Regions from separate parts of the Homo sapiens genome. Here region 2 is linked to region 1. Evidence: promoter capture Hi-C in human tissues and cell types (Jung and others, 2019). All regions are on one chromosome and are shown on one strand. The core of a region is centred on a gene start or on the middle of the fragment in contact, and the rest is flanking DNA. Distances in the headings are between cores, read along the strand shown. Region 1 holds the start of SAMD14 (sterile alpha motif domain containing 14). Region 2 overlaps LOC105371822 (a long non-coding RNA gene).

Region 1 (5,099 bases), core at 1,304-3,803:
AAAAAACAAAAAACAAAACCACCTCCAGATTCCATAAATGCCTGGGGCTGAAAGCAGAAAATGAGGTGTGGGAAGGGGTCATCAGGGAAGCAGACTCTCCGAGAACCCTCCTGCCATTCTTGAACTCCAGGGGCTACTAGCAAAGATCTAGAACATTTCTTCCTGTCCTGACAGGCCAGATGGGAAGGAAGGCTGACCCTAAGAATTAACCACATTTCCTGATTCAACCACAAAGCCTTATCTGGCTAGGACCCAGCTGCCACCTCCTTCAGGAAGCTGTCCTAGGTAGCCCTCCCTCCTCTCATTTGTCTTCGTAATTTCTAAATCCACCCTTCTCCAACTACTGGGAAATGGGGAATTCTTCATACTTCACTGATTCCTTAAATAGGTCTCATCTCCCCCCCACCAATCAGATGGGAGCCCAGAGAAGAAAGGGTCCACGTATTCTTCCGTCAGACTAGGGACTGTGAAGACAGGAACTGCCTCTCCCATCAGAATGGAGGCTCTCTGAGGGCAGTAGTGTTGTCTCCTTTCTGCCTCTGAGAATGAAGATCCTGTGTTCTTTATTCAAGAGCCCATTCCAGGGTCGAGATCCTCTGCTGGCTGGAGTCCTCCTCTTCCAGGCACCCTCTGGGCTGGATTGGGGTTTCCTGCTCAAAGCCATTCTCGGTCCATCCTGATTCAGCACAAACTGCTCTCTTTTCTTCCCTTCAACAACTAACTTTCTGGGGTGTGTAGGGGGACCCTCCCTACATTGTGTCCAGGGGGTCACCAGACCCCTCCCACCCAACCCTCTCCTTCCAAAACTGAGCCTAGAAAAATTAGACACCAAACCCGCCCCCACTCTCACTCCCACACACACCCCGCACACTCTCTCACACACACACACACACACACACACACACACCCCCATTCAGCCAGGTAACTGCACAAGGGTGGGATTGAACCGGTTCCTCTGGATACCCTTCCCCCCAAGGCTTCCAATCCTGGAGAAGGAGCACCAATGACCTTTGACCCTTCTCTGGGAGAAAGGGAGGCAGGTGAGCTCACAGCCTCTTGGGACCCAGGAGAAGGAGAAAGGAAGAAAGGGCGCACAATTCCTGGGGAGGGAGCGGGAGCGGGAGCGGAAGGAAGTGAGGAGTAGGAAGAAGCAGAGACAGACACACAAACTGGCGGAGAGTCCACAGGGCTGCTGAGAAGAAAGAGATCACACCGAGAGTGGGGCCACGGGAACTGGCACTGGGAACAAGGGCTTCCGCCGCTCTAAGTGACGCCCGAGGGTGGGAGAGAAGGGAGAAGCCCTTCGGGCAGGCGATAGGAAAGGGCCCCTGAAGAGGAGAAAGCGACAGAGAGAAGTGCAACTGGGAGAGGCCGGGAAGAGGTGGATGGGAAAGGAGACTAGCGGTCGGGGAGGCAGTTGTGGAGCCAGAGAGGTGGTCCCCCCTTCCCATATCGCCGGCCGTCCACTGGCCCCAGGCTTGGGGTAGTCCTCAGGAGTCGGGCACCCCCTCAAAGCACTGTTGGAGATGGGGTGAGGTTGGGGACAGGGCACCTACTCCACTCTCAGAGCCCTTCTCCCCAGTCAGAGCCCGGTGGCTAGTTTCTCTCCAAACCATCAGCACAACTCCCCGCCGGGCAAGAAAGAGTTAAGCCCTCTCCCCCTCCCCCCACACCAGCTTTTTATTAATTTCTCCGGGCGTCGGGCGGGAGGGAGGGGATTAGGGCCATAAATCCTATCTCCGCCCCCTCCCCTGACAGCCCGGCACCCCAGCCCCGTGCGGTCCCCCTAGGGATAGGGGAAGAAAGGCCCTTGTCGCTTAGCCCTGCCCAACCCCACTCAGGGTCCCACCGCGGGCCCGAGTGGCCCTAGCCCCAGTTCCCGGTCCACCCCAGGGCGCCCGGCCCCTCACCTCCGGCATCGGTCATCTTCAGCGTCTGGCGCCCCGGGAACCCCTCAGGCCCATGGTGCTCGAGGCGGGGGCCGGGCAGGAGAGGGGTGGGGGGACCGTCACCCCGGCCGCGGGGGGCTCCGGGCGGGCTCGAGCCGCTCCATCCCGGGGGTGGGGGTGAGGTCGGCGGGAAGGGTCCCAGAGCCGGGGGAGATGGAGGGCGGGGGATGTGGGGAGAGGGAACAGGTTCGCTGGAAGCAGGAGGCGCGGGCGGGGCTGGACCAGGAGACCTGACGGGAGGATGCTCCGTGTGTGTGTGCGTGTGCGTGTGCGTGTGTGTGTGTGTGACAGAGAGAGAGAGAGAGAGAAGAGCGAAGAGCGAGCGCCACCTCCCTCCCCGCCCCTGCCGCCCGCCAGGCCTGGCCGGACGCGGGGCCCCCGCCTGGCAGGGCCGATTCGCGCGGCGTCGCGTCGGCAGGGGTCCGCGGGGGTCTCCGGGGAAGGGGCGTCGGGGTGGGGGGCGCGTGGCGGAGAAGCCGGGCGCCCAGGAGACAAAGAGCGGGAGGGAGCGAGGGGGCGGGGGCGGGGGAGGGCGGCGGGGAGGAGGCGGCTGGGGCCGGGGAGCGGAGTTGCAGCTACTTCTCTGCCCGCGGGAGACGCGGCGCACCGGAGTCTGCGCGGGTGGGAGCGGCTCCGGGGCGGTCCCGCCACGGGACCCACGGGGCTTCCGCCTCCTCTGCCGGGTCCATCAGGGCTCCCGATTAGTTCATTCATTCAACAAACGTCCGCCGAGCAGCCGGGGCGCCGAGGCTGGAGGGGACAGCGGTGAACAGAACCCCCGCCCCCTAACTGCGCTCAAGGCCAGTGGGCCAGTCGGGGGCTCAGACGAGTGGGGAGGCCCTCACGAGCCTGGGCGCCATGGGCCCAGCTAACAGAGGGCACTTCTTGCCGGAAGGGAGAGCGCACCCCTGGCCCGGCCTGGGTCCAGGCGGCCGCGGCGGGAGCTGGGCTGGGGGATTCCCAGAGGATGTGATGTGTTGGCTACAACTGCGGGCCAGGGTAGGGAAGTGCCAGGGGGTGTTGGGGGTGGGAGGGCAAGAGGGGAAGATAAATTGAAGCTGGGGAGGTGCAGGGGGCTTGCACTTTATTCTACCAGCCGCCCACCCCGCCGCCCACACACACACACACACACACACACACACGCGCGCGCGCGCACACACACAAAATTAAGAGGAGGGAGGGGCTCAGGTGTGCATTTAGGAAGCACCCTTGGCTCCCCTGGAGACAGGGTTACAGAGGGCACTCTGAAGGCAGGGAGACCCGCTGGAGGCTATTGAGGGCCGGTGGCAGTGGGCATAAAGATTACAGATTAAGCTGAGAGCCCTTCAGGATGCAGGCCTGAAGAAGCTGACACCGAAGAAGCTGACAGGATTTGGGGACCTGCTGGACTAGGAGGTGAGGGAGGAGGGGTCTAGGATGGCTGTGGACCTTGGCTTGAGGCAGGAAGCCCTGGAGCAGGTGGGGGTGGGGACGGATGAGATCAGACTTGGACCCAGTGCGCTGATGGTAGTGGCAGGCCAGCCAGGGAGGCAATGTAGGGATCCACAACCAGCTACCGCACGTCACAGCTTGGCAGGTGCCAGGCGCTCTCAGATCATCTATTGTCACCCTCACAATAAACCCACAAGGTGGGTGTTTCCATTACCCACTGCCTCAGAGAAAACAGAGACTTAGAAGAAGGAAAGTGCTTTGCTCAAGAGCAAGTGGTGAAAGGCCAGGCGCAGTGGCTCACGACTGTAATCCCAGCACTTTGGGAGGCCAAGGTGGGTGGATTACATGAGGTCAGGAGTTCGAGACCAGCCTGGCCAACATGGTGAAACCCTTGTCTCTACTAAAAATACAAAAATTAGTCAGGCATGGTGGCGCTACTCTGGAGGCTGAGGCATGAGAATTGCTTGAACCTGGGAGGTGGAGGTTGGAGTGAGCTGAGATTGTGCCACTGCCTTTCAGCCTGGCCAACAGAGTGAAACTCAAATCTCAAAAAAAAAAAAAAAAAAAAAAAAAAAAAAAAAAAAAAAAGGCAAGTGGTGAAGCTGGATCAGGGGTCTAGAGTCAGAGGAGAGGTGTGGAGTCTATAGGACAGAGTTCCCTGATGGCCCACAGGACTCTGCAGTCCGAGGCCTCCGGGAAGTGGCCTGTTGAACCAGGACAATCTTGTGACTATGAGTGAGGACAGAATTAACAGCCTTTAGGGTCTGAGGGTATCCTAGGGGATTTATAGGAGTTTGGGGGTCTCTGGGTGTCTTCAGAATCTTCTGGCAGCCATGAGGCTAGATTGTGGAAATCTGGGGAAGGGGTGGGGTTTCTGTTGACAGCTGTGGGGGCTGCATCTGGCTGTCTTAAAGGGGTTGTGCTTTGTAGGCATCTGGTGAGATCTGAGTGGTGGGCTGTAGTGGGGGGCTTGATTATATAGACCCTGTACATCCCAAGGGGGTGGGGAGATGATGGGTATGTTTGCCAGGCCATAGGACCCAGGAGGAGCCCCTGTTCCCCTATTCCTAGTGAGGCCTAAGCTTCTGAGGGTTGGCAATAAGTTGCCTTATTGGCAAGTGTTGGCAAACCTACTCAAGCTTCCAAAATTGGGCAAGTGAGTGGGGGGATAAGGAGGGTTTAAGGTGACAGGCCCACTTACAGCTACTTGACAAAGTCCCAAACATGGACATACTGTGTATCATGGGCAAGTCACAGCTCAGGCTTGAGAAACTCACAGCAAAGCCACACACACCTCCAGGCACACAACACACTTGGGCTTAAATGTGAGGGGTTACTTGGCCCACTGTTTGAAACATACTATGTATAGGCCCCTCACCTAACACACAGGACAGACGGGGAGTGGGGGAGGGACAGAGGGACCCCGCCCTGGATGCTTAGCCCCCATCGGCCCAGCAGAAACCCTCGAAACCTTCATGCCTGCCTCCCCACCCAGATTAAGACTACAGATTACAGGAAGGTCATGCCACTTCACTTCTTGGCTAGGTTTCCTGAGCAGGGCCTTGGTGGCCCTGGGGTTCAGTGACTTCTAACTCTGGAGCCATGACCTCTGACCCTGTGGTTTGGTGGTCTCTGATCTTGGGGATCAGACACCTTGATCCGTCTTCAGCATCCTTAGGGCTCCCAGAGTGTTCCAACAATCGTCCACATAGCAAAGAT
Region 2 (5,099 bases), core at 1,426-3,925, 140 kb after region 1:
TCATTCAGGAAATATTGCTTGCTTGGTGCTAGACAAGTGCCGAAGATGCTGTGAGAGGCAGATAGAAGTCCCTGCTGTCACGGATCTTAAGTTCCAGGAAGAGACACAGATATAGAGTCGTGAACAAGTAAAGACTAAAAATTAAAATCATGATGGGGGATGCCATCATGACTGGCCACTCTGAAGGCCGGGCTTGTGTCCTGTCTCCCCTCAGACTGAGGGCTCCCTGAGGGCAGAGCCTGTGCCTGCTCCATCAGACAAAGGTAGAACCAGCTTCTCCATCAGGCTAGAAGCACCCTGAGACTCAGGGAGAGGCATGGAGCATCTGGGAACAAGAGCTGAGGTGTCCTAGAAACCTCCCAGGAACAGACCCAGGGATAGAAGTTGGCAGGCAACTGGCAAAGGACCCTCTTCCCAGCCAGGCCAAATGTGGGAGGGCTTCCCTCTCCTCCTCCCCATCCAGCCCCCGACCCCATTAAACCTTTAAATTAACTTCAGCTCCACCCCGAGCTATAGAGAGTGCCCCAAAATAAATCCTAAATTACATGCTGCTTGGGGGCAACCACAGTTCTCCTTCCTCCCTCTCCAGCAAGCAGACCCGCCCGACACCGTGCTGAGGGGGCTCCCCCAAAATGGGCTATTTATACAGCTCCTGCTCCCCTGTTTGCTCTCTGGCCCTGTTGTCCTTGAGTGAGGCCCAAGCAGGCTATACAGCTGTCTTGGGAGGGTGAAGGGAGTGGGAGAGGCTGTGAGCCTTGCCAGGGTCTGACTGGCCATGGGGGATGTAATTTTTAGTCCAAACTAGGATACTTTGGAGTGCTCGTAGCAGTTACACCCAGGCAATGACATAGGTCTGAACTGTCCTGGGCACACGGGGTATCTGGTCACCCAGCGATGGGGCTCAGACTCCAGCCTCTCAGCCACCCAGAGCATTGCCTTCTTGGGGATGAGAGAGACAGAGAGAGAGAGAGAGAAGAGAGAGAGAGATTGCCTTCATCCCCGTTGCTGAGACAAGCAGTTCTGAATATGGGGGCACTGGGGCTCCCATACCACCTGGCAAAGCAGAATGGGCTCTGGCTTCAAGGACTCCCAGGCACAGAGAGGTCCTGCAGGAGGGTCTGGGCAAAGAAGTGGGGAGCCGGATGTGGCTGTTTTGAGACCACAGGCTTGGGTCAGGGGCCTCCCTCTCCCTGGACAAAGCCACCTTCCATTCTGGGAAGCTGGCCCCAGATACTGGAGCTGCTCCCCTTAGGGAAAAGAGAGAGGGGGAGGGAGAGGAGAAAAGGGAGAAGAGAGTGGAAGATAGAGAAAGACAGGCACACACAAAGAAGCGGCAGAGTGAAGGACAGAGACAGAAACAGAGGTGGGCAATGACAGAGGGAGGGAGAGTGGGGAAGGGGTGCTTCCAGAGCCCCAGGATGGCAGCACCCCCTTCCTACCCACAGGGCCCGCTGTGGTAGCCCTGTGGGCTCCGCACCGCACCGCTCTCTCTGTTCTCCACCCCACCGCAGTGAAGTGGGGGCAGGGCCTCTGCTGGCTGCCCAGGAGGACACCCGCCGCTCCTCCACTGCCTCCCTCCTCAAGACTAGCAGTGGGTGGCTGGGCCCAGATGCCTGCTCCCCGGCTGCTGGCGGGCTCAGGTGTCTGCAGAGCGTCCTCCTGCTCCCTGCCATCCTTGCACGCCCCTCTATTTCAGGCAGCCTGGCCCCTGCTCAGTGCCCTCTCTGGAAGCCTGCTCCTTGGCCAGCAGACCTGGCTCCCCCAGGTCCAGCCTCTACCTGCCCGCTCCTCCCGTCCCCTTGAGGGGGCTTTGCTTCAAAGGGGTGGAGCTAGGGCTCCTCCTCCCTGTGAGGTTGCGCTGGGGGTAGGAGCCTGGAGGGGAGTCAGAGGCAGGGCTGAGGAACCAGAGGCTCCTCTCACTCTGAGTCAGTCACAGGGAGGGGAGGGTGGAGGGGGCGGCAAGGAGGTGGACCGAGAAAGAGCCGGCCACAGAGATGTCCAGGGAATGGGGCAGGGCTGGGTGGCAGCATCACAGTGTCTGGAGGGCCAGGTACACATCCAAGTGCACACCGTCATGCAGCGATTTAGAGACGGGCCCCAACCTCTGCAGGCTTCAGCCTTGGATTGTGAACAGAGGGGACACACAGCACAGGACCAGCTGACCAGATCCCAGCCACCGCTTGTTTGCACTCACAAGTAAATTGATGCCGACAACCTGGAGCGGAGGGCTGGTGGTGTGTGAGTGTGAGTATGTGTGTGTGTGTTGGGAGAATAACAGAGGATTCAACCAGTGTCACCCAAAAGGGGCAAGGACCCCGCAGCACTGGGAAAGGGTCACAAAAGCCTTCCTCGCCTTAGAGGAGTCAACATGCTGTCTTCCCAATCCAACTTGATTATCTGTCTGCTCAGCAGCCCCCATGATCCCCACCTCCCAAGAAAACACTGTTTATGGGGCCTGGGGCATCAGGCCTGTCATTTAGCTGGAGGAGGCAACCCAAGCCACAACTGGGAGCTGAGCCCTGTGTGGAGAGGCAATGCCCAGCCTGAGGCAGGCACCAGCCCAGACACTTAGTGCCCTGTTTACCCTGGCAAGGGTGGCTGGCACAGGTGGGCCTCTCCAGGGAGCAGCTGGTGGCCCTGCCAGCAGACTCCCCTGCAGGCCAGAGAGGAGGCCAGGACAGCAGCTCTCCAGGATGGGGAGGGAGGCACCTTGCCCGCCGCACACCCTGCACTGCAGTTTGCAGGGTGCCAGCCTCTGAAGCTCAGGGGTCTCCCAGCTGCCCTGCAAGGGAGACCATATGGCCCAGGGCCCAGCAGGAGAAACCACAGCTCCAGGATGCTGGACACTGGTCCCCAAGGCCCCCCAGGGGAGGCTGAAGGAAGCCCCAGGTCTTTGGGGTCCTGGTCTGATAGGCCCAGATGCCACTCAACTCCCCAGGTTTGTGGGACCCACCTTCTGCATCCAAAGGCACATGTAACTTGGCATAAACAAACACCCTTTCCCCATCACAGCCCATCACTACACAGTCGCTGTACCCACAGTCCTTCTCTATCACACAGATGGTATAGAACATGCTCCTGCACTCTGCCACACCCAACATACACATCATCCAGCACCCAGCTCACAAACGCAGCATACACACACCAGACACACAATGCTCACCCAACACAGCTCCTTCTCCACCCGCATAACCTCCACTCCAGCAGCAAGGTCACATTTGCTTGCATGCGTGCACACACGCACACGTGCGCACACACACACACAGTCCTCTGAACCAATACACTCTCCTCCCAGTGCCACACTTGAAAGTGGGCCCAAGTAGGGGCCACCATTTTAGTCCTGGGCTTCTCCCTGCCCCTCCCACTCTCCGTCCTCCCTGCCACTCTCGGTCCTCCTCCCACTTCCTCTGCCCGCCTTCCACTTTCTCCCTTTCTCTCTCTCCTAGCTGAGCCCCTGGCCCTGAGGTCTCTTTCCCAGCACATGGTGGGACACTTGAGGGCCACACATATGGGCAGCTCCCAGCAGCTATTAAATACCACTTCGCCCACCTCTGGGGTTTTGAGGGGCTGCAAATTCCGGAGGACAGGAGGCAGCAGCTGGCAGCTGCTCAGGGCCTCAGATCCCCCTGCTCACCATTCCCCCATGCACCGCCCACCCCTCCTCATTCCGGGCTGAGTCATCCCCACATCTGGAACCTCTGCACATCTGGAAGAGCTGAAGCCTGTGCAAGCAGCTCCACGTAGACACCCCCTCCCCCCTGCTCCATCTCATCCCCATCCCTGCTGGCAGTTGGGGTCCAGCATCCCCCACCTGGAGCAGGACCTCGGTTACCTAGCAGCAGGCACTGCTGGGCCAGCCTTGGGGACCAGGATTGCCCACAGGTCTCTCCCCAGTAGCAGTAACAGTGGCGTCTTGGTGCCCACCGCAGTAAGCAGGCAGGGCAGTGCTAGCCTTGGAGGAGGCCAGGCCCAAGGCTGGGGGAGGCAGGAGAGCCAGGCAGGGAGGAGGTAGTGGTTTGGCCCAGCAGGCAGAGGGAGTTTATCCTGGCACTGGGCCCTGAAGCCAAACATCCTCCACGAACCTCGCAGACACATCAAAGCCCGCAGGGAAGGGGCCCTTCCGTAGAGGAAACCTACAGTCCTGGAGGCCTGACAACCTGACTCCGGGCACAGGACCACCCTGTCCCACTCAGCAACCCAGGCTCAGGTCGGGCACAGCTGCCTGGAGTGGACAGGCAGAAAAGGACATTTCTACCCAGGGGCCCTGCCGCCTCACCCCACTCGTTCAGTGCTGCCACAGAATGAGGTTTTGCCCCCATGAGGGGGCAGAGTTGGCACCAGATTTAGCTTTAGCCCCTAGTACAGGGGTCCCTCCCAAACTGCCCCCCTCCCACCCTCCAGGCAGGGAAGGCTGATGGGGAGGGGCTCACTTTGTCTGTGCGCCACCCTTTCAGCCCCAGCCTGGAAGAGAAGTCGTGCTCAGTTGTGGGGGGATCCAGCTTCCTCCCCCAGGCTCTGATGTTCTGCAGAAGACCCCTCCACATGGACAAGAGGGAAATGGAGAGGGCAGGGGGGTTAGGGGTTGGGAGAAAAACCAAGCTTCAAAAAGTAGAAGCTGAAGTGGAATCAGAAGGCGAGAACTGGGCTGCAAGCCACAGGGCCTCTCTCTGGGGGGACAGCTGGGGCCGGAGGAGGAAGAGGGGTTGTGAGGCGCTAACAAGGGAGAGAGGAGGTGCTAACAGGGCCACTGGGGTGCGGGGATCCTGAAGCCAGCCCCCTAAAGGTTGGCCCGGAGATAAGGAAGCCAGGCACTGGCGGTGGGGTAAGGGGTGTGAGTGGGAGCTGCCAATCAACACAGGAGGCTGGGATGCTCTGCATACACACATGTGCACGTAATGTACATACATGTGCACATGCAGCTCCCACACAACCAAAGCCAAGTCTGTCCTCAGCTGGGAACCAGATGATGTGGCTGCTTAGAGGCACTATGATTTGAGGAAGAATGTGATCTCTGCCAGCCTGAATCCCTCACCCACTGCTCACACTCATTCTCTGCCTTTACAGCTTCAGGCTGGGCCTGCGCCCCACTCTAGTCTAAG

The links. The method cuts DNA at HindIII sites, captures the fragments that hold promoters and counts their contacts. A contact is called where the count stands out against the background at its distance.
Region 2: a fragment that was not itself captured here is called in contact with the fragment with the promoter of SAMD14 in region 1 in 1 of the 25 tissues and cell types used here (bladder).

What each region holds. Positions count from the first base shown.
Region 1 is chr17:50,127,607-50,132,705 of GRCh38, forward strand. It overlaps SAMD14 (sterile alpha motif domain containing 14), which reads right to left and starts at 2,554. Exons shown (of 10, transcript NM_001257359.2): 1 at 1,911-2,554. RefSeq lists silencers at 2,270-2,329, 2,570-2,649 and an enhancer at 4,804-5,099. The HindIII fragment of the contact is 12,261 bases long and covers 1-4,894 here.
Region 2 is chr17:50,262,794-50,267,892 of GRCh38, forward strand. It overlaps LOC105371822 (a long non-coding RNA gene), which reads left to right. Exons shown (of 6, transcript XR_007065844.1): 6 at 9-96. Among named protein-coding and RNA genes, the nearest start is that of TMEM92, 9.1 kb to the right of the region's middle. The HindIII fragment of the contact is 6,379 bases long and covers 1-5,099 here.